Linked DNA regions of Homo sapiens: regions 1, 3, 4, 5, 6 and 7 are each linked to region 2. Evidence: promoter capture Hi-C in 16 types of primary human blood cells and fetal thymus (Javierre and others, 2016). All regions are on one chromosome and are shown on one strand. Each heading gives the region's core, a stretch centred on a gene start or on the middle of the fragment in contact. The rest is flanking DNA. Distances are from core to core; before and after follow the strand shown. Region 1 holds the start of ZNF223 (zinc finger protein 223). Region 2 holds the start of ZNF420 (zinc finger protein 420). Region 3 holds the start of ZNF235 (zinc finger protein 235). Region 4 overlaps ZNF226 (zinc finger protein 226). Region 5 overlaps CEACAM20 (CEA cell adhesion molecule 20). Region 6 has its middle 7.1 kb from the start of ZNF221. Region 7 has its middle 19 kb from the start of ZNF227.

Region 1 (2,836 bases), core at 291-2,790, 7.0 Mb before region 2:
TCTCGGTATAAAACCCAATCGTACATTCTATTTACTGAGATAGGAGAAAACCGCCTTATGGCTGGAGGTGAGACATACTGGCGGCAATACTGGTCTTTACTGCACTGAGATGTTTGTGTAAAGTCACACATAAATCTGGCCTATGTGCACATCCAGGCACAACTCCTTTCCTTAAACTTATTTATGACAGAGTCCTTTGCTCACATGTTTTCCGGCTGACCCTCTCCCCACCATTACCCTATAGTCCTTCCACATCCCCCTCACCAAGATAGTAGAGATAGTGATCAATAAATACTGAGGGAACTCAGAGACCAGTGCCGGTACAGGTCCTCATTTGCTGAGCGCCGGTCCCCTGGGCCCACTTTTCTTCCTCTATACTTTGTGTCTGTGTCTTATTTCTTTTCTCAGTTTCTCATTTCCACCTTGTGAGAAACACCCACAGGTGTGGAGAGGCAGGCCCCCTTCAATATCAAACTCCAAATGAACAACTATGGAAATGTGACAGCTAAAGACAACGCATAAACTGGACTTTGAATAGGTGAAGGGTGGGGCAGAGGACAGTCATAAGGACTTTAAATGAAAAATTTAACAAATTCGTATATGGAACTGCAGATTAGATAACATGATGCTAGGTAATATGCTATCCAACACTATCTAGTAAGTACACTACAAATACTAGTATTCTTTTAACACATCTATCTGACATGTAATCGGTAACAGTATTATTTAACATAATATCCAATATTATCTACCATGTTATGTGAAACCCTATAACCAGCCCTTCCTAAATGCCTCTTACCAAGACACCCCACAATTACCGTGGTATGTGGGCTTCCTTGCTGCAGAAAGCTACCAATCAGCTGTCTCTGGTTACAGGTATGTTCCTGGTGGTATTTGGTTGATGGTCATCAACAAAGCAAACAGGAAAAATGTAAACACTTGGCAAATTTGGGTAAAGGGTATATGAGAATTTCTTATACTGTTTTTGCAATTTTTCTATAGCTTTGAAATGATATCAAACGTTTTAAAATATCAGGCAACAAGAGACCACTCACCAAGTGACAGGGACAACTTTAAGGCTTTCATTTGTATTATCTCTTTCAATTCGCAAAACAATTCTATTAGGATGACCCTATAAGCACCATTTTAAAGAACAGCAATGGGAAGTACAGAGACATTAACATTCCACATCACACTGCGAGAAAGAGTGTACACACTGCATACGTAGGGAGGCGGACTGAGCGAGGTCAAAGTCCTGGAAACCCTCAGAGCAGGGCACACAAGGCCACCCCAATCCCACCCCCCGGGAGGCGAGCAAAGCCCCCCGACGCCAGAAGGCTCCGCTGACGGGAACAATAAACACCCTCCCCGCCCTCGCACCTCTAAACCTCTGCTCTTCGCCAAGGCTTCTTTTCCCCTGAGACGATCATCGATCATCGGGTGGTTGCGAGCCTCAAGCAAAGGGGGTTCGTTCAAAATGTCCTGCAAGACGCAGAAATGGCTCAAACTACCCCGGTCATTAAAGCAGGAACCTCAGACTAGGAGACCGGAAGTGTCCTCTCTGCGCCAGAGTGTCTGGACTCCACTCCCCAGAATTCCCCGGACCCGCCCCCCTGAGCCAAAGGGCCCGGGACTCCGCAGAGTGTCTGGACTATCGTTCCCAGAATTCAACGGTTCACCTGCCAGAGCCAAAATACCCAGTGTTCCACGAGCCAGTGGACTACACTTCCCGTAAAATGGACTACTCTTCCCAGAATTCTCCGGAAACGCCTACCTGAGCTGAAGTATCAGGAATCCCGCAAGGTGTCTGGACTGCAGAGCCTCAGATGCAAAAGGAAAATGTCCATCACCTCACCCTTTAGGCTCAAGTGTTGCGACTACATGGTGCTCCTCGATTACACTTCCCGCAACACCCACGGGGAACGAATTTCATAGCCCCAGGTTCCTGGTGGGGAATGCAGACTGTTACCCTGACAGTTGTCCTTCCCAGAGTCCTCGAGCGAAAATATTGAATAGAAAGAATTTATGAAGTCTAAATGTCTCCCATGATTGACAGGAGTGTTCTTGGACAGGGAACAAGCGAGGAGATACAATATTCAAGGAGCTAGATAGAGTGACTGTTGAGCCGTCAGATGGCTGAAAGGAGGCTCAGGGTTTAAAGCAAGGATATCCAACTCCAGGGCCACAGACCTGTACCGGTCCACTGACTGTTAGGAACCGGGCGGCACAGCAGGAAGTGAGCGGCAGGTGAGGGAGCATTATGGCCTGAGCTCCACCTCCTGTGAGATCAGCCCAGCATTACATTCTCATAGGAGCGCGGATCCTATTGTGAACTGTGCGTGCGAAGGATCTAGGTCAGGCGCTCCTTATGAGAATCTAATGGCTGAGGTGGAACAGTTTCATCCCGAAACCATTCCCCAGTCCGTGGAAAAATTGTCTTCCACAAAACCGGTCCATGGTGCTAAAACGGTTGGGGACCACTGGTTTAAAGAATGAGCCAGGTAGAATGGGTTGGGAGGGGCAATGAGAAGCCAGGAAAGCATCAGCCCCTGTAACTGAAAAGTAGATCAGTGGCTTCCCGTTTGCAACGTCCAGTTAACAAGAGGGAGATCTGGTATAAAGAAAGTGATTTATTCTAGAGCTAGCGTAGGGGAAGTAGCACAGGTGTTGTCTTTAAGTGCACGGCTTGGCTTTTAGAGCAGAAAGCAGGCACTTTTAAAAGGTAGGGGAGGAAGAGGGAAGGGGTCTGTGTGCTGGCTTGGTGCCTTATCTATTAGGCAGTTGAGCTGGCTTTTTCATGGGCAGAAATAAGTTGTAACCAGAAGGGAGAGAGTAG
Region 2 (2,866 bases), core at 108-2,607:
CCTCTGCCTCCCAAAGCGCTGGGATTACAGATGTGAGCCACCGCGCACAGCATCCAGTGGCTGTCTTGAAGGTATTATCAGCCCTAAAATTCTCATCCTAAGACCAGGTCTGTAACTTGCAAATAACTCCTATTCATCACTCAGGTGTCCAAATGTCTGACTTCCTTACTTCTTGCCACTTCCCTGCACCCAATCCCCTTAAGGCTATAAGGCAAGAGGACGCAGGGAAGAAGTCGTGAACTCGTAAGTAACTACATTTCCCAAGGTGAACCGAGGATGGATACAGAAATGAAGCAATACAGGCCATGGATGAAAGGGCAGCCACTGTGGTCAAATCAAAAAGTCCTTAAGTCCTCAGAGCCACATGGGAGGAGCACAGAGCCACATGGGACTCACAATCCATAGGCAGACCTCAGCCCCAAATGAACCCCAGAAATACCAAAAAGAAATTTACTTCTGTACTGGACTAAACCCCCATAAGGTCACAGAATATACAAATGGCCACATAAAGTCACACATAATCACATTTCCACAGTTACACAGCTAGAGGCACAATCACCCAATTATGCTACATTGTTAGACCACCTTGTCTCAAACAAAATCCCATTAAGTACAAGGCATATAATTACATCCAAGCACCTTGTCAGAGACACATACCGCCAAAAACACCCTTTCAAAGCTGCAATTTTAGTCTCTTTACACAGTCATGAAAACAGCACACACAACCCCACAGTCACACACAATCAGACAGTCACCCAACCCAGTACGAAATCAGGGAAACACGCGGTAATAAACACCGTGTCACAGCAACACTGTCACACACCTTAAATTTACTGGCAAATCCATCCCACGATATCAGGTTTACACACAACCTCAAAGTGACACAAGAACATCCAAACACTCTTGTCACAACTGTCACACACTTCATAGTCACAGGCAAACCCCAATTATACACGCGGCACACATAAAATCACAGTCACATAAGTATATCCCAGCCAGGTAAGCAAACAGTCACAAACACCCTCAGAGTCACAACTCACACTCATACAAATGCTCATACACAAAACCACAGCCACACACGTCCAGTCGTGTATGCACAGGCAGTCGCCAATACCAGGCAGGCTGTAGCCTGCACACAAAACCGGAGACACGGCCACACGAGTAACCCCAGCGACGCTTTCTCCGCGCGTGTCCGCTCCGGCATCCCGGACACTCCTACCTTGACAGAGGTGCAGTTCAGGGTCCAAGATCTGGCTCCCGGGTTCCAAGCCCAATTTCGGGTTCGCCAGCCCAGCAGGTGCGGAGCCAAGCTCCTCCACAGACGCGGCCCTCTCCCCACGCGAGGCCTCCAAATCTCGCAAACTAACGGAAATGAAGCTACGCTCCGGGAGCGGTGCCTCTGGGAAATGTAGTCCAGCGCTCCGGACGCCGTGCCTCTGGGAAATGTAGTCCAGCGCTTGGCTAGCCGGCCAGAACGCCAGGAGGCCCGGGCCGCTCACCCCTCGAGGGGCTCGTGGGCTCGGCCTGTGGAACCTGCTTGTCCCGCCTGCAGCGCCCCGGAGGTTTCTGGGAGTGCCCGCCCGCCCGCGCTCAGTGCGCAGGCGTCAGACGCTCAGGGCCTGCGAGAGCGAGCTGAGTGGTCCCAGGGTCTACCCCTGGCAGGAGAGAGGGTGGGACCCGCCGGCCAGGCAGGTGCGGGGGAGGAGCTGGGGCCGGTGCGGGGACCCGCCGGAACCTCGGATTTGCAGAGGACCCTGTGTGTGCCCTCCCAGGCCCTTGGGGTGTGTGTGACAATGGGAGATGCCAGGTGGACTGAGAGTCTTTCCGTGGCCGGGTGTGTATGGTTGTGTTTCTGCCTGTGTGTGATTCTTCCTGCTGTGGGGTGTGAGGTGATTTGTACTTTAAGCTGCGTAGTAATGGGATTTTATAACTGTGTAGAATCGTCTAACAGAGTAAGACGATTTTACACAGATCTCTATTGTGGTTTGCTTATGAAGGGTATCTGTATGTATATCTGCTTTTTTGTGTGTGGCCGTAATTGAGTAACTGGTGATCTGTGTTATATAAACGTGCTTTCTTTGTGCTTGTATTTCAGTGTCTGTAAGGGTGCCAAGAGCAAATGAGCTGTGTGTGATCGTGTGTGACAGTGAAAATACTATGGCCAAGTTATTTCTTCCTTAAATAGTAATGTAATAATCTGGAAAAGATAATCAATTTATCTGACAAGTAATTTAGACATCATTTTTCTATTGGATCAAATATATGTGTTATCGGGAAGAATCCAAAATTAACGTAGTTTTTTCTTTGTTTTTAGAAAGATTATTTCAAAACCAGTCCTAGGGTAACTGCCTTTTCCTCTGCCACAGCAGGCCAAAAGTAGATATCCATTATTTTCTAATTAGAGGGTAAAGTTTCTCTTATTACTGGGTACGGTTGAGAGGCCATCAACTAATAAAATAATAAAACAACGTTATACATAAGAAGAGTGAATTTTAGCACAGTACAGCACTAGTCAGATTTCCCAAATTCTAGGTCAAACACTTGTCCTCATTTTCTGATGAGAAAACCTTGGCCGGCAGAAAGTAACTTAAGGCTGTAGAGTTTGTTGGTAAACCTGAACTTATTTTTACTTACTTCAAGACCTCTTGGCCTTTTATGATTTTTGAATAATCAAAAACTTGTGAACTTCCAGCACAGAGAAGATAGAGTATAATTTCACCACTCCTTCAGAGGGAAAAAAATTAATAAAACTTGGTCTTGCAAGACCATATATCAAATACATTGATCTCTTACCGGTAATGTGACTGGAATAGCAAATTTGGTGATCAGAATTCTTGAGGGAATGAACCTGTGTGTGTGATCAGGC
Region 3 (2,700 bases), core at 124-2,623, 7.2 Mb before region 2:
GAGACCGGCAGGCCAGCAGGCCATTAACCGGTGGAATAACGCAGTTTGGCCTGGGTAGTCGGAGGAGCGCCCAGGCCGCTGAGAGGCTGACTCCAGGCGAAAACCATCTCCCTTCTGGCTCCCCCTTCTGCTGAGAGCTACTTACAAATCGTTCTCCAAGGTTTCTCCAATCCTTGCACTCTTTCTCCAAGCCTATGTGTGATGCGATTCTTCTGGTACACCAAGGCAAGAACCTCTGGGATACAGAAAGCCCTCTCTTGCTTGCGATAAGTCAGGGGTCTAATTGAGCTAACACAAGCCTCCTACAGATGGCTGAACTAAAAAAGCACCCTATAACACACGCCCACTGGGGCTTCAGGAGCTGTAAACATTCACCCCTAGACACTGCCGTGGGGTTGGAGCCCTACAACCTGCCCGTGTGCATGCTCCCCTAGAGGTTTGAGCGGCTGGGCACGAAGAAGCGAGCCACACCCCATCACATGCCCTGGGAGAGGGAGAAGTGAACTTTTCCCGTTTCATCACAATTTACTTTCGGCACTAACATGATTGTTCAGCTGTCTTCATCAGCAGGCCTTTATTCCAGGAGATTCCTGCCCAAGCAAACTGTTTAATTGTTCATTATGGGAACTTCCACAGAGACCCATCAAATTTTCAATCTCTTCCAAAGAAAGTGTCAATAGATTGCAATTTAAGATTCTTTGCTTCAAAAATCCTTGCTATATCCACCAATCCTGGACTGTAGTATCATGATCATTATGCAATACTAATAAAATCCCTTGCATTGAAAGACCCGCCTTAAACATCCAGTTCTCAATCAGTTCCAACCTTGCCTTGACACTTTGCTCTGTGAAGGTGCCAACGCTCCGTCGAAGTGTTGTTCTCCATTACTGCAATCAACAATAAATTCTGTTTTTTGTCTTATCAACAGGTTGAGTTGATGATATTTGGGGAGCCGGCATTTGACACAAGTTTGAGATCTGGTGTTCCTTAACGTTCAGCGTCCATCGGAGCTCAGCCTAAGTCACTTTTACGCTTCCCATTTTAGCCTACCCTCTGCTTCTGCGAAAAATTTTGGTTTCTAACTTATTTTAATAATACAAGCTGCACTTTTCATTTTTATATGTCATCACTTTAAAAATTTTACAATTATTTTCTCATGAGCTTTTAAAAATGAATAAAACAAAAACGAATCTCACAGTAGTAGCACCAGAGAAGTGGCTCAAACCCAACCGGCTTGAGTCAAAACAAAGCCCAGCTGGTGGGAAGCGCTGCCCTTGGAGCATTCTGGGAACTGTAGTCCAGGAGTGAGAGAACTCTGAGACGCTTCCGCTTAGGAATTCTGGGAAGTGGAGTCCACGAACCGTGGGCACTCGGAGGCACTTCCGCTCCAGGAAGGCGAGGTCGGATCTGAGATATCTCCCAGGGAGGTGAGTCAGCTCCGGGTCTCCAAGACTTCTCCGAGCCCTCTTTGCCTAGGCGTGGGGCCAGCAATGAACCCGTCCTTGGCTTGGGGAAGAGAAGCCGCGGCCAGCGCTGGAGGGCGGGGTTGGGAGGCTGCGGGAGTTTGCGTCCCCTCGGCAGAACCTCTTGCGTGGGAGGCGGGCTCGCGTCGTCCTTCGAGGTTGAGGGTCTGCTGCCCTAGCCGTCCTCACGCACCTACCAGCCAGTCCTGCCTGCTCCTCGCAGTAAAATATTGGGCAAGTTACTTAATCTCTCCTTGTCTCAGTTTCCTCGTGCCTGTAAAGGGTTAGTGCGTTCCCAGTGATGTTCTTGTGAGAATTAAATGAGGTTTTATAGAAATAAGCTTAAAACCAGTGCATAGGAAAATGTTGGATGCCACCGTTAATTCTGTTATAATACTGAAAAAGACGCCTGTTGTTTGGAAACTCCTCTGAGTCTAGGAGATCCAGCTACGGAGCCGCTGTCCCTTCTCTAATCCTTGCCTGATGTGGGGCCGTTCCTGGATTCTTGGACTTTTCTAGCCTCTTGTTTAGGAGACAGGAATTAGTTCCAGCGGAGCCTGGGGAATGTCCTGTGTGTTTTATCTCAGATAAGCGATCGTCATTACGGATTTGCAGAGTGCCAGAGGTGTCCTGAGGCCCTAATAAATGTTCAGTATAATGTGGTTATAACCAATAATCCCGTGTGGTTAACTTAAGTGTAACACCATTTCTTAGAGAGTTTTAGGTTTTTATTAGTCATTGCTTTCATGCATGTGGAAAAAGAGACTTTCTTGAGGCTCCTCCAGCTTAGTAACATTTGCAAGTAATTACATCTGTTGGAGGAAAAAAAAACCTGTGGCAGTTTAACTATCATTACCAACGGAACTAATTATGTTAGACAACCAATCACAGTTACAGACTTTTCTGAGGGTAATGGTAACTCACAGGACAGAGCAATTATTTTTGAGTTCTGGGTTTCTTAAAAGATTCATTTTCTAGAAAGCATACTCAAAAGGGCAGTTTTATGAAGCATAATAGCACTTGCTTGTCAGAAGCTGCAGGAAATAGAGAATACAGGCATTATTATTGTCCCCATTCACAGGTAACTGAATTAAGGCACAGAGAGATTAATAATTCGCTTAAGGTTTATACTGCTGATCAGTTGAAAATAGGTAGAAATGCCAAAATTTGAAGCCAGGCATTTTGGCTCTGTTACATTCCCCTGCCTGTCTGTGTCTCATTTCCTTGGAAACTAAAG
Region 4 (2,813 bases), core at 70-2,569, 7.1 Mb before region 2:
TGTGGACACTCTGATGAAGTTGAAGACTTGAGGCCTGACTGAAGTACTTACCACACTCCCCACATTTATATGGTTTTTCTCCTGTGTGCACCCTCTGATGCATGTCAAGGTTCAAGCTCCACTTGAAGCCCTTCCCACACTCATCACATTTGTATGGCTTATCTCCAGTGTGGACTTTTTGATGGGCTTGAAGATGTGCACTCCGACCGAAACTCTTCCCACATTCTTCACATTTGAATGGTTTTTCTCCACTGTGGACTCTCTGATGGGCCAAAAGATTTGAGGCCTGCCTGAAGACCTTCCCACACTCCTCACAATTATATGGTTTCTCTCCTGTGTGGATCCTACAGTGAATTTTAAGATCTGCTCTACGACTAAATCCCTTGCCACACTCTTCACATTTGTATGGTTTCTCACCCGTATGGATCAGCTGGTGAATCTGAAGTCGTGAGCTCTGATTGAAACCCTGCCCACACTCCTCACACTTAAAAGGTTTCTCTATACTGTGGGCCTTCTGATGGATTTGAAGATACGAACTTTGACTGAAGCCCTTCCCACATATCTCACATTTATAGGGTTTCTCTCCTGTGTGGACCACTAGATGAACTTGATAATGGGAATTCCTCCTGAAGCTCTTCCCACACTCATTGCATTTGTATGGCTTCTCTCCAGTGTGGACTCTCTGATGGGCTTGAAGATTTGAACTCAGAGTAAAGCCTTTCCCACATACAGTACATATGTATGACTTCTCTCCAGTGTGAACTCCCTGATGGGCCTGAAGACTTGAAGGCCGACTAAAGCCTTTACCACATTCCTCACATTTATAGGGTTTTTCTCCTGTGTGGACTCTCTGATGAATGTAAAGATTTGAGCTACAAATGAAGCCCTTACCACACTCCTCACATTTGTATGGTTTCTCTCCTGTATGAACTCTTTGATGGGATTGAAGATGTGAATTCCGACTGAAGCTCTTACCACATGCATCACATTTGAATGGCTTCTCCCCAGTGTGGAGTCTCTGATGGTCCTGAAGATGAGAGGCCTGACTGAAGGCCCTCCCACACTCCTCACAATTATAAGGTTTCTCTGCCGTGTGGACCTTGCAATGAACATTAAGTGCTGATCTACGACTGAAACCTTTCCCACATTGCTTACATTTGTATGGTTTCTCTATCACGTGGACTTTCTGATGGGTCTGTAGATGAGCGCCCTGACTGAATTCCTTACCACACTCATCACACTTAAGTTTTTCTCCCACATGTACTTTCTGATGAACAGGAAGAACTGGGCTGTAACAGAAGCCTTTTCCACGCTCAACACATGTAAGAGACTTCTCTCCTGATTGTAACTGCTGATGAAGATCAAAGCTGGAGAGATCACTGAAGGGTTTTTTACACTCATTACACTGGTACGATTTCTGTCCTGTGTGAATCATGCTATTGTGATCAAATGTCAAAATCTTCATGTTGTCTTTTTCATAATCATTGGGTCTATAAGATTTTTCACTTTTGTGTACTCTATGACCATCATGATGTGAAATCCAACCGATGGGATCAACACCCTTCTTACATTGACATAATTTATTTTTTATGGAAATTTGCTGATCTCTGTTCAATCTCTGTGACTCAGTCAGGAATGTTTTCCTCCAAGAATCCTGGGTTCTCAAGATAGGAAACTCTGGATTCCCAGTATTATTGGGACCATCTGCTTTATTTACTATATAGTTCTCATCTTCAGAAATTTGAATAGACAGTTCTGTCCCTACCTGGTAAGGGAAATCACCTTGTTTGTGACACTGAGAATTATTGATCATGGAGTCTTGACACCTGGTTAAGTCATTTGCAATTTGTTGCCAGATTTGCCAACAAGAAAGCTCTTCTTCTGATTCTCTGTCTTGAACAGTAATTAACTTACTTTGATTTTTCTCTCCTGTAAGGACAAAGGATTCAGAGAGATAGTGAATTTTTTTGTTCAAAGATTTAAGATTTCACACTGAGGACAGAGTAAAAGACTTTAATGAACCTCGGGATAGTTCTGCTCATCTTTTGTGACACATTTGAAGTTTCTGGTTTACATACTGACAGAAACCAAGAGATGGTCCAAAACCAAGAGATGGTCCACCAAGCTCCCAATTGCTAAGCACTAATGAAACCCATTTAAAAACACAACTACTGACATACTATCTAAATTTTTTATTCCATGTCTTTCCTACCATAATATGGTATCAATAAGGAAAAACATTTTGTAGTGCTCACAGTTTACAACCACAGCCCAGAAGTTACTGCCCGGCAGTCATTCATAGTCACTCAAGGAATGTATGCATATATGAGTCCTTCCAACATTTCTTCATATATAAATGACTTCCAACATTTCTTCTAACTTCAAATCCAAGTTTAAGTTTGAGCCAGGTCATAGAGCAAAAGAGCTTTTACAAGTAAGGTATCTGAAATACAAAAAGAACTAGAAAGTACAGTTTTGCTGCAAAGTTGAAAAGCTGTACCTGAGGTAGGGGTACACCAAGTGAGTTATTGCTGAAGAGAAAAATCAAAGTTGATAATCACTTGGGGTGAAAGGAAAGCATGAAGACCTATGCACTGGATCCTTCTAAGGCTTTTGCACTGAGTCAAAATTGGAAGGCTAGCAAAGAATGCTGTCTCTTTGAAAGCAAGGTATAGAAAGTTTCTGGATGTAGATATGTTTGTCTTTAACAAGAATGTTTTCCAAATTGACAAAGTGGTCTACTAGTCAATTGTGAAATAAATTTAATAGCTTGTGATATTTAGGAAAAAAAAACAGATAAAGTATCATATCAG
Region 5 (2,839 bases), core at 148-2,647, 7.4 Mb before region 2:
TTCTGTTTTTTTTTTAATTTCGTTGCTTTATTTTTATTCTTTAATGTTATACTTTCCTTCTACTATATTACTTTTCTCTAATTTCCTCTCCACTTCTCTCCCCTCATTACCTTATTTTATTACTCTCTTTTCTGCTCCATTTTATTTTACTTTATTTCTTTCTTTCTGTTACAATTTTCCTTTTCATTTAATTTCTTTCATTTGCACTTCTTTGGACATCATGCCATTTTATTTCACTCCATTCTCTGCCTTTAATTTTTATTGTATTCCTTTCTGTCCTATTCAATTTCCCTCCATTTCATTTATGCCTTTGCCATCTCTTTCAGTTACATTCCTAAATAGTCTATTCCTTTTCATTCATTTCCTTTCCTTTCCAATCTTTCATTTCATTCATGATATTTACTTCCCCACATTTTTCTCATGGGAGATTTGAAGCAGTTTTTCCCATGGAAGATTTGAAGCAGTTTATATACAACACTACAAAATGGTGTTAAATTAGAAATAGAAATTACAATCAGAAAAAATATTTTTAACAATAGCAAGAAGTCAATATATGGGTAAAAAGTAAAAATATATACTGGGCCTACGTGATATCTGCCACTATATCTCTTATGTGTCTCTAAGCTTCCTGGTAACAATAAAACAGAGAGGTATGATTAGTTACATCATTCAAAAAGAAGAAAACTGGGCCAGGCGCGGTGGCTCACGCCTGTAATCCCAGCACTTTGGGAGGTGGAGGCGAGCAGATCACTTGAGGTCAGGAGTTAGAGACCAGCCTGGCCATCATGGTGAAACGCTGTCTCTACTGAAAATACAAAAATTAGCTGGGCATGGTGGCAGGCACCTGTAATCCCAGCTACTTGGGAGGCTGAGGCAGAAGAATCACTTGAACCTGGGAGGCGGAGGTTGCAGTGAGCTGAGGTCGAGCTACTGCACTCCAGCCTGGGCAACAGAACAAGACCTTGTCTCAGAAAGAAAAAAATAAAAAAGAAGAAAACTATTAGTTCATCCAGGCATAAGCAAAATTCCAGTAACAAGTTTAGAGCAGTCAAGTGATGGCTCCATAGTTCTAAGGACTAGTAGAATTATTTTAGAGAATGCAAGTGATCTCAACCCTGTCATCAGGACAGCCAGATTACTCCAATTCCAAGAATGGACTTCAGATTCTATATTCTGAACAAGCCAGTGACCAGTCAGAATTTATCCAGAGGAGGAATAAGAGAGAGGCCAGAACAGGGGCTCAAATCCATGTCCTACTGACAGGGTTTTCTTGGGTTTGGAAAAGAGAAAGTTTAGGGACAGAGAACTCCAATATTTTAGTGTCTGACAGGCTTCAAGTAGAGGGATAAATGTGTTCCTTGTTGTTCCAGAGGGCACATAAATTACCATGGAGGATAGGTAAAAGAAGGGTAGATTTTAGCCTAACAGACAGATAACTATTCTTGAAAAATGTGAATATCCTATACACCTTTTTAGTTTTTTGAGACAACGTATTGCTCTTTCACCCAGGTTGTGTGCAGTAGTGCGATCATGGCCAACTGCAGCCTCAGATTCCTGGGCTCAAGCGATCATCCCACCTTGGCCTCCCAGAGTATTGGGATTACAGACGCAAGCCACTGCACCTGGCTGAATGTTTCATATATTAATATCTTAGTCAAGAATTTTTAATGTTAAGAAAGTTAAACCCTTTGAATGTAGTTCGAATGGGGATTAATTGAGAGAACACTGAGAAATATCAGATAACTCAATTTCAGAAATTACTCCTGGGCCTCTTGGCGACTTGAATGCTATCAAGAAGCTGTTTCTCTCTTATTATACAGTTTCTCATTTTCACTAATCTATGAATTCATCTCATTCTTCTCAATCCAGATTGAATTTCTATGTAAATGTCCTGGTCATTGCTTCTCTATAACTTCAGAGTATATATAACAACATCTTCTGCTGCCCTTTAAGCATTTCTAGGTTCAAATTCTCCATAGAAGAATCAGATTGATTCAGGCCATGGTATGGATCATGTTTAGTTTTGTCAGCTCTCTAATCAGCTTTGAACTGGTAAAAACTTAGCCACCTAAGTCCCTCTCTTCACCAGTGTCTGCGTAGGGGAGCCATGTTTGTTTCCTATTATTAGTCGGGCAAAAGGTCTTCCCAGAAATACCACCTAGTAAGCTTCCTCTTATATCTCATTAGCCAGAATAAGGTCATATGGTGCTCCTTGTAGCAACAGAGGCTGAGAAAGTGGTACATTAACATTCCCAGCCTCTTCAATAGAAGCAAGCAAGGGAGGTGGTGTGGGGAAGAAGGTTAGGTCAGTCAACTCAGTGAACTCAGTGTCTGCTACATTCTGGAGGGATTAGAAGGAGCAAACCATGCAAACAGTATGAAAGGAAACATTCCAACTTGAGAGGCATCAGTAAAAAAGGCCCTGAAGAGGGTGTAGAGTTATCAGTTGCTGTATAATGAATTACCACAGACTTTGCAGCTTAAAACAACATGAATTCATTATCTCACAGTTTCTGTGGGTCAGGAGTTCAGGCATTGCTTAGTTAGCTCTTCTGCAAGGCTGTATAATCAAGGTGCCAGTCAAAGCCCAGGTCTCATCTGAGGCTCAGCTGGGGATGGATCCACTTCCAAGCTCATGTGGTCATTAGCAGCATTCAGTTCCTTGCAGGCTGTCATAATGAGGGCCTCAGTTTCTTACTGTCAGCTGGAGGTCATCCTCAGTTCTTTGCCATGTGGCCCTCTCCACAGGCAGCTCACAACATTGCATCTTGCTTCTTCAAGCCAAGACAGAAGTCATAATCTTATGTAACAGAATCACATACATGCAATCATGTATATC
Region 6 (2,718 bases), core at 43-2,542, 6.9 Mb before region 2:
CTCACCAGAGTAAGCCAAGGGTGACAGGGTGGGAGGCTAAAACTCTGAGAGAATCTCATCTTTTGGGTCAAAGGATCTTGGGAAGAAAGCCCTTAGAATCCAGAGAGTGTGAGAGAAGATTCAGAAGACAGAGCTGGAGAAGGGGATACCTCAGTTTTGTGGATGAACTGACACAATTTAAAGGCTCATCACTAAGCTGCACATTCAAATAACACACCCAAAGGAACATAGAAAATACATTGAGAACTGAACTATGTTATAAACCATTGCTCAGAAATCAGCTAATCCCTGAGTGGCGCACTGAGTGGCATACCCAAATAGCACAGCAAAGTTTTTAGAACTAACACATAGAGAATATGAGACAAAACTTATGATATGAAATTAAGTACAGGAGCAGTGGCTCACGCCTGTAATCCCAGCACTTTGGGTGACTGACGTGGGCAGATCACTTTGAGATCAGGATTTTGAGACCAGCCTGGCCAACATGGTGAAACCCCATCTCTACTAAAAATACAAAAATTAGCCAGGTGTGGTGGCATGTGCCTGTGATCCCACCTATTTGAGAGGCTGAGGCAGAAGAATTGCTTGAACCCAGGAGGCAGAGGCTGCAGTGAGCTGAGATCACGCCACTACACTCCAGCCTGGGTGACAAAGCAAGGCTCCATCTGAAAAAAAAAAAAAAAAAAAAAAAAAAAAAAAAGGAAATTAACCTGGTTGGCTGCCTGCTAAAACAAACAAAAAAAAAACCCTCAATGTTCTCTATAGATTTTAATAGGACCAGAATCTGGTAACATATTGAAAATGCTCAGGATACAATCCAAAATTACTTGACATGTAAAAAGAAAAACAGGTATATCTGACCAACTTCAAGAAAAAAGCCATTCAAGAGATTCCAACCCCTGAATGTTCTAGATTTTTGCATTATCAGAGACTTTTAAAAGTTATTGTAATCATTCTCCATGAGGTATAGGTAAGCATTTGAAATAAATGGAAATATAAAAGTTGTCAGAAAACTAGAAACTATAAAAGCAAGCAAATGGAAATTTCAGAACTTCAAAATACAATAACTGAAATTTAAAATCAGTCAGTAGCAGAATGGAGATGACAAAGGCAACTCATTGAGCTTAAAAACTGAACAGTATAAAATATCGAATCTGGAGGAGAAAAAGCAAAAATAGAAAAACTGAATTGAGCCCTAAGGACATTTGGGACAACATTAAAAGATCTAACATTCCCATGATTGGAATTCCAGAAGAGGAGGAGAAAGGTATTGAAATAGGAAACTTTTCAAATAAATTATAGTCGAATACTTCACCAATTTAATAAAAGAAATACATCTGCAGATTGAAAAAAAACTCAGCAAAACCTAAATATGTTAAAAATGAAGAAAACCATACCCCAGCACATCATAATGAAACTATTAAAATATCAAAGATAAAGAAAAAAATGTTTGAAAGCGTTTAAAGAAAAATTATACATTGCAAATAGGGCAACAACATTTCAAATGAATGCAAATTTCTTATCAGAAACCCTGGATGTCAGAAGACAGTAAAACAGCATTTTAATGTGCTGAAAGTAAAGAATTGTCAATCCAGACACTATATTCAAGGAAAATATCCTCCAGAAATGGAAATAAAATAAGGACCTTCTCAGACAAAAGAAAACTAAGAGAATTCATCACTAGCAGATATACTTTAAAAGAAATGCTGAAGAGAAATAATATCAGAGGAAAGTTTCAGGAATGAAGGCAGAGAAACAGAACTAGTAAACTTGGTACACATAATACAATATTTCCCCCCCTTTTAAATTCTTTAAAATATATATGATGGTTGAATATAAAAATTTAAAGTATTGGTGGGATTTTTCAGAGCATGTAGATATAATACACACACTATAGCACAAAGAGGGGAGGATAAACAGATCTCAATAGTTGTAAGTTTTCCTTGTTTTATGTGAAGCCATAAACTATTGGCTCAAAATAGTCCACAATATGTTAGGTATGTATACATGGGTTTCTAAAGCAACACTAAATCAAACAAAACAAAAGATAAAACCAAAGTCATGTAGTTTAAAAATAACATGTACAGCCTGGGCAACAGAGTGAGACTCTTGTCTCAAAAAAAAAAAAAAAGCAAATAAAAATAGAGCATTAAAAAAATTCAAATAATCCAAAAGAAGAAAGAAAGGAGGTAACATAGGAACAAAAAGAGACAAACACAAAAATAATAAATTGGTAGGTATAAATCAAACCATATAAATAATTACATTAAATGTGAAGTGTCTAACTACATAAAGACAATGTTTGTCACATTATTTATTTTAAAAACGTGACCCGATCAGGCATGGTGGCTCACACCTGTAATCCCAGCACTTTGGGAGGCCGAGGCGGGCGGATCACGAGGCCTGGAGATCGAGACCATCCTGGCTAACGCGGTGAAACCCCGTCTCTACTAAAAATACAAAAAATTAGCCCGGCGTGGTGGCGGGCGCCTGTAGTCCCAGCTACTCGGGAGACTGAGGCAGGAGAATGGCATGAACCCGGGAGGCGGAGCTTGCAGTGAGCCGAGATTGCGCCATTGCACTCCAGCCTGGGCGACAGAGCCAGACTCCGTCTCAAAAACAAATAAACAAACAAACAACAACAACGAAAAAAAGTGACCCAACTATAAGCTATATATAAGAAACTCACTTTAAATATAATTATATAGAGAGACTGAA
Region 7 (2,700 bases), core at 96-2,595, 7.1 Mb before region 2:
GTAATCCCAGCCAGCTGGGAGGCTGAGATGAGAGAAATACATGAAACCAGGACTTCCAAACCAGCCTGGGCAACATAACAAGACCCTGTCTCTAAAAATATTTCTTTAGAAATTAGCCAGATGTGGTGATGCACGCGTGTCTCCCCAGCTACTCAGGAGGCTGCGATAACAGGATCACTTTGCCCAGGAGTTCAACGCTGTAGTGAGCTGTGATTGTACCACTGCACTCCAGCCTGGGCAACAGAGTGAGACCTTGTATCTAAACAACAACAGTAACAACAAAATAAGAATAATAATAAATGCCACTAGGAACGTCACTGCCATCTATGACGGACTCCAGTCTCCAAAGAAAACGTCTCCCATGTAAGGATAAAATAGTCACAGACAAGGAAGATTACCACTGAGGCACCTGCCAGTCTCAAGAAAATTTCTACACAACCAGGGAAAACTTGGTCATAGGTTAGACAACTAGGACAAAGGCCATCTGCCAAGTATAAAAAGATGAATTCTGTGTCAGGTACACTAGTTAAAACAAAACAGCTTGGTCAATGCTTTTGACAAAATTTTTGGGCTTTTCTTTGCTCTTGAGAGATTGATAAGAAATGCAATGGGATCTTCAACTTCTAAAGAATGCCAAGCCCTCTGGCACTTGAGGCAGCTATACATTTGAAATTTATGGTCCTTTCTCATGCACATTTAAAAAATAATTGGCAAATTACACTAAGGATAATGTACGGCCATTATGGGAATTATTTAAACTCTCTAAGCTTGTTTCCTTAGAGCTGAATTAAGAGACTGGAACTGTAGGATTAACATGTACGGGCTTCTAAGCTAGCTCTCTTTTTTTCTCTGCTCGCTCTGAATCTGCTAACTTGTTTGCTTGTATTAAATTTGTTAATAAGTTCAAGGATTCTTGGAAGTTTATTTTTCTAGCCAATCCTAACTGAAATGTAAATATCCAGAAGTTAATTAAAACAACTCATTTAAAATTGAAGAGGAAAAAAGGGTAAAAGATTTTTCAAAAACTAAAATGCTATAAAAACAGCTTTACCCAAAATTTGGTCCACTTCCCTCATAAGATTACCTATCAAAGGCAAAAGAAAAAAAAAAGATTAGCAATATGAAAAACTGATCTTAACTTGTCCCATTTTTTCAGAAATATAATTTGGATCCAACTGTCTTTTTTTATACACTTGTGATTTTATATTAGTATATTTTACAGTTTCTTGACTACAATTTTACAGTGATAAGCTATAAGATCTTTTTGTGTTTCTGTATGTTTCTTGGTCTGTGTTATACATACATAATATTCTTCTACAGAAATATATAAAAGAACTTTATGAAACTGATGTAAAGAAAAAAAATTAAGCAATTTATCAGAAAAAATAGTAAATAACTATTTACTAAAAATAGTAATAAACCCAACTTTTAAAAATTTGTGTGACTTAGGTAAATCTTTGGTAAATAAACTGATTTTAAAATTGTTGTTAAAATAGTGAGGTCTTCAGAATTGCAAGCATACATTTTGCCTGGATATATTTGTCAGACAATTTTCTTTTTATATAAGATGAATCTTATGGAAAAAATTTGTGTTTAATCAAGTTGCCTATAGTTAAAAGGGAATTATTCACAGGTTTTATCAAAAATTGAGTATTAATACAGTGATACAAAACCAGAATCCATTCACCTATGTTTAAAGCAACAAGGTTTTCTTGATGTATTTATGTGATTTTAGTTAAAAAAAATCTGCAAGAGGTTTTGATATTCTGAAATCCGTTTAAATTTTCAGCCGTCTTCTGAACTGCAGCTTTTTCCTGTTTTACACTTTCCACTTAATTTCCCTTATTCCAGCTTTAAAATACTATCTCCCTCATTTAAAAATAGTAATTTAGTTTCTCAAAAGAACTTTCCTTTTGAAGCTTTTCAAATTCATATCTCAGTTCCACTTTGCTGTATCTCATTGCACATGATTTGATGAGAAACATGCTTCATGTTGTCTTTAATTAGGTTTTTGATTACTTAGGTGCTTTGAAAGAATTAAGGTTTGTTTTTTTTACATCTACGTAAAGTTCTGCATTTGTTTTTGGAAGCTTTTTTCACTCTGATTAAGTGAACGACTAAAATCATGCATCATTGCCTTCAGCTCTTCCTTGTCTCCTTAGGGATGATAACCCTCTCCCTCAACTTTGGAGTCAGCTCCTGTAACTCTCTCCCTCTCTCACCTCTCACTCCTCTTGCTTCTCTCGCTCTCTCGCTCGCTCTCTCTCTGGCTCTCTCTCCAGTTCTGACTCTGCTATTGTGGCCTAACACTAAAAATGTTTGTCTTTAAGGCCTAGGAGAATCTAGGGGAATAATATTTTCTTCCAGTATAATTTGATTCTGTAATTTTGTCTTTTCTTGATGTGTCTGAATTGCTGTTTAACCAATAAATTCCACATTCTTTTACTTTTTCTAAGAGCCACATATCCGCCTGCTCAAGGTACTTGTTTTCTTGTTTATCTTTTCTATAATATGGTACACTCATAACCTTGGATACACACTCTTCCAGTGTTTAGTTGAATTCAAGTACCTTTTCATCAGGCTCAACTTCCAGGTTATTGAAATGGGTTTCCCATAGGGAGAAGCAATCACAAGGGGTTTTTAAATATGTAGAAGGTTTTTATCTTTTGATAGCTGGCCTAGGAAACAAAGATTTTTTGT

What was found. The method cuts DNA at HindIII sites, captures the fragments that hold promoters and counts their contacts. A CHiCAGO score of 5 or more calls a contact.
Region 1: the fragment with the promoter of ZNF223 here is called in contact with the fragment with the promoter of ZNF420 in region 2 in 2 of 17 cell types (non-activated CD4 T cells and total CD4 T cells); the score reaches 6.0 in non-activated CD4 T cells.
Region 3: a contact is called between the fragment with the promoter of ZNF235 here and the fragment with the promoter of ZNF420 in region 2, in 6 of 17 cell types (total CD4 T cells, non-activated CD4 T cells, activated CD4 T cells and 3 more). The highest score is 22.8, in total CD4 T cells.
Region 4: a contact is called between a fragment that was not itself captured here and the fragment with the promoter of ZNF420 in region 2, in 2 of 17 cell types (non-activated CD4 T cells and total CD4 T cells). The highest score is 6.2, in non-activated CD4 T cells.
Region 5: a contact is called between a fragment that was not itself captured here and the fragment with the promoter of ZNF420 in region 2, in 1 of 17 cell types (total CD4 T cells). The highest score is 7.5, in total CD4 T cells.
Region 6: a contact is called between a fragment that was not itself captured here and the fragment with the promoter of ZNF420 in region 2, in 1 of 17 cell types (non-activated CD4 T cells). The highest score is 8.2, in non-activated CD4 T cells.
Region 7: a contact is called between a fragment that was not itself captured here and the fragment with the promoter of ZNF420 in region 2, in 1 of 17 cell types (non-activated CD4 T cells). The highest score is 6.3, in non-activated CD4 T cells.

The regions. Positions count from the first base shown.
Region 1 is chr19:44,050,740-44,053,575 of GRCh38, reverse strand. It overlaps ZNF223 (zinc finger protein 223), which reads right to left and starts at 1,540. Exons shown (of 5, transcript NM_013361.6): 1 at 1,381-1,540. RefSeq lists enhancers at 1,314-1,553, 1,373-1,874 and a silencer at 1,594-1,653. The HindIII fragment of the contact is 18,414 bases long and covers 1-2,836 here.
Region 2 is chr19:37,076,924-37,079,789 of GRCh38, reverse strand. ZNF420 (zinc finger protein 420) reads right to left here and starts at 1,357. Exons shown (of 5, transcript NM_144689.5): 1 at 1,220-1,357. LOC105372390 (a long non-coding RNA gene) reads left to right here and starts at 1,593. Exons shown (of 2, transcript XR_001754095.2): 1 at 1,593-1,692. RefSeq lists an enhancer at 1,282-1,521 and a silencer at 1,612-1,901. The HindIII fragment of the contact is 14,557 bases long and covers 1-2,866 here.
Region 3 is chr19:44,303,698-44,306,397 of GRCh38, reverse strand. ZNF235 (zinc finger protein 235) reads left to right here and starts at 1,373. Exons shown (of 5, transcript NM_004234.4): 1 at 1,373-1,427. RefSeq lists enhancers at 1-460, 1,037-1,590. The HindIII fragment of the contact is 5,796 bases long and covers 1-1,806 here.
Region 4 is chr19:44,174,614-44,177,426 of GRCh38, reverse strand. ZNF226 (zinc finger protein 226) reads right to left here. Exons shown (of 6, transcript NM_001032373.2): 6 at 1-1,929. Among named protein-coding and RNA genes, the nearest start is that of ZNF226, 11 kb to the right of the region's middle. The HindIII fragment of the contact is 8,400 bases long and covers 1-2,813 here.
Region 5 is chr19:44,506,538-44,509,376 of GRCh38, reverse strand. The region is part of intron 11 of CEACAM20 (CEA cell adhesion molecule 20); the gene reads left to right. Among named protein-coding and RNA genes, the nearest start is that of ZNF180, 7.4 kb to the right of the region's middle. The HindIII fragment of the contact is 1,542 bases long and covers 627-2,168 here.
Region 6 is chr19:43,942,758-43,945,475 of GRCh38, reverse strand. No RefSeq gene overlaps it. Among named protein-coding and RNA genes, the nearest start is that of ZNF221, 7.1 kb to the left of the region's middle. The HindIII fragment of the contact is 3,684 bases long and covers 1-2,718 here.
Region 7 is chr19:44,191,855-44,194,554 of GRCh38, reverse strand. It overlaps a transcript of ZNF226 not described here. Among named protein-coding and RNA genes, the nearest start is that of ZNF227, 19 kb to the left of the region's middle. The HindIII fragment of the contact is 1,152 bases long and covers 770-1,921 here.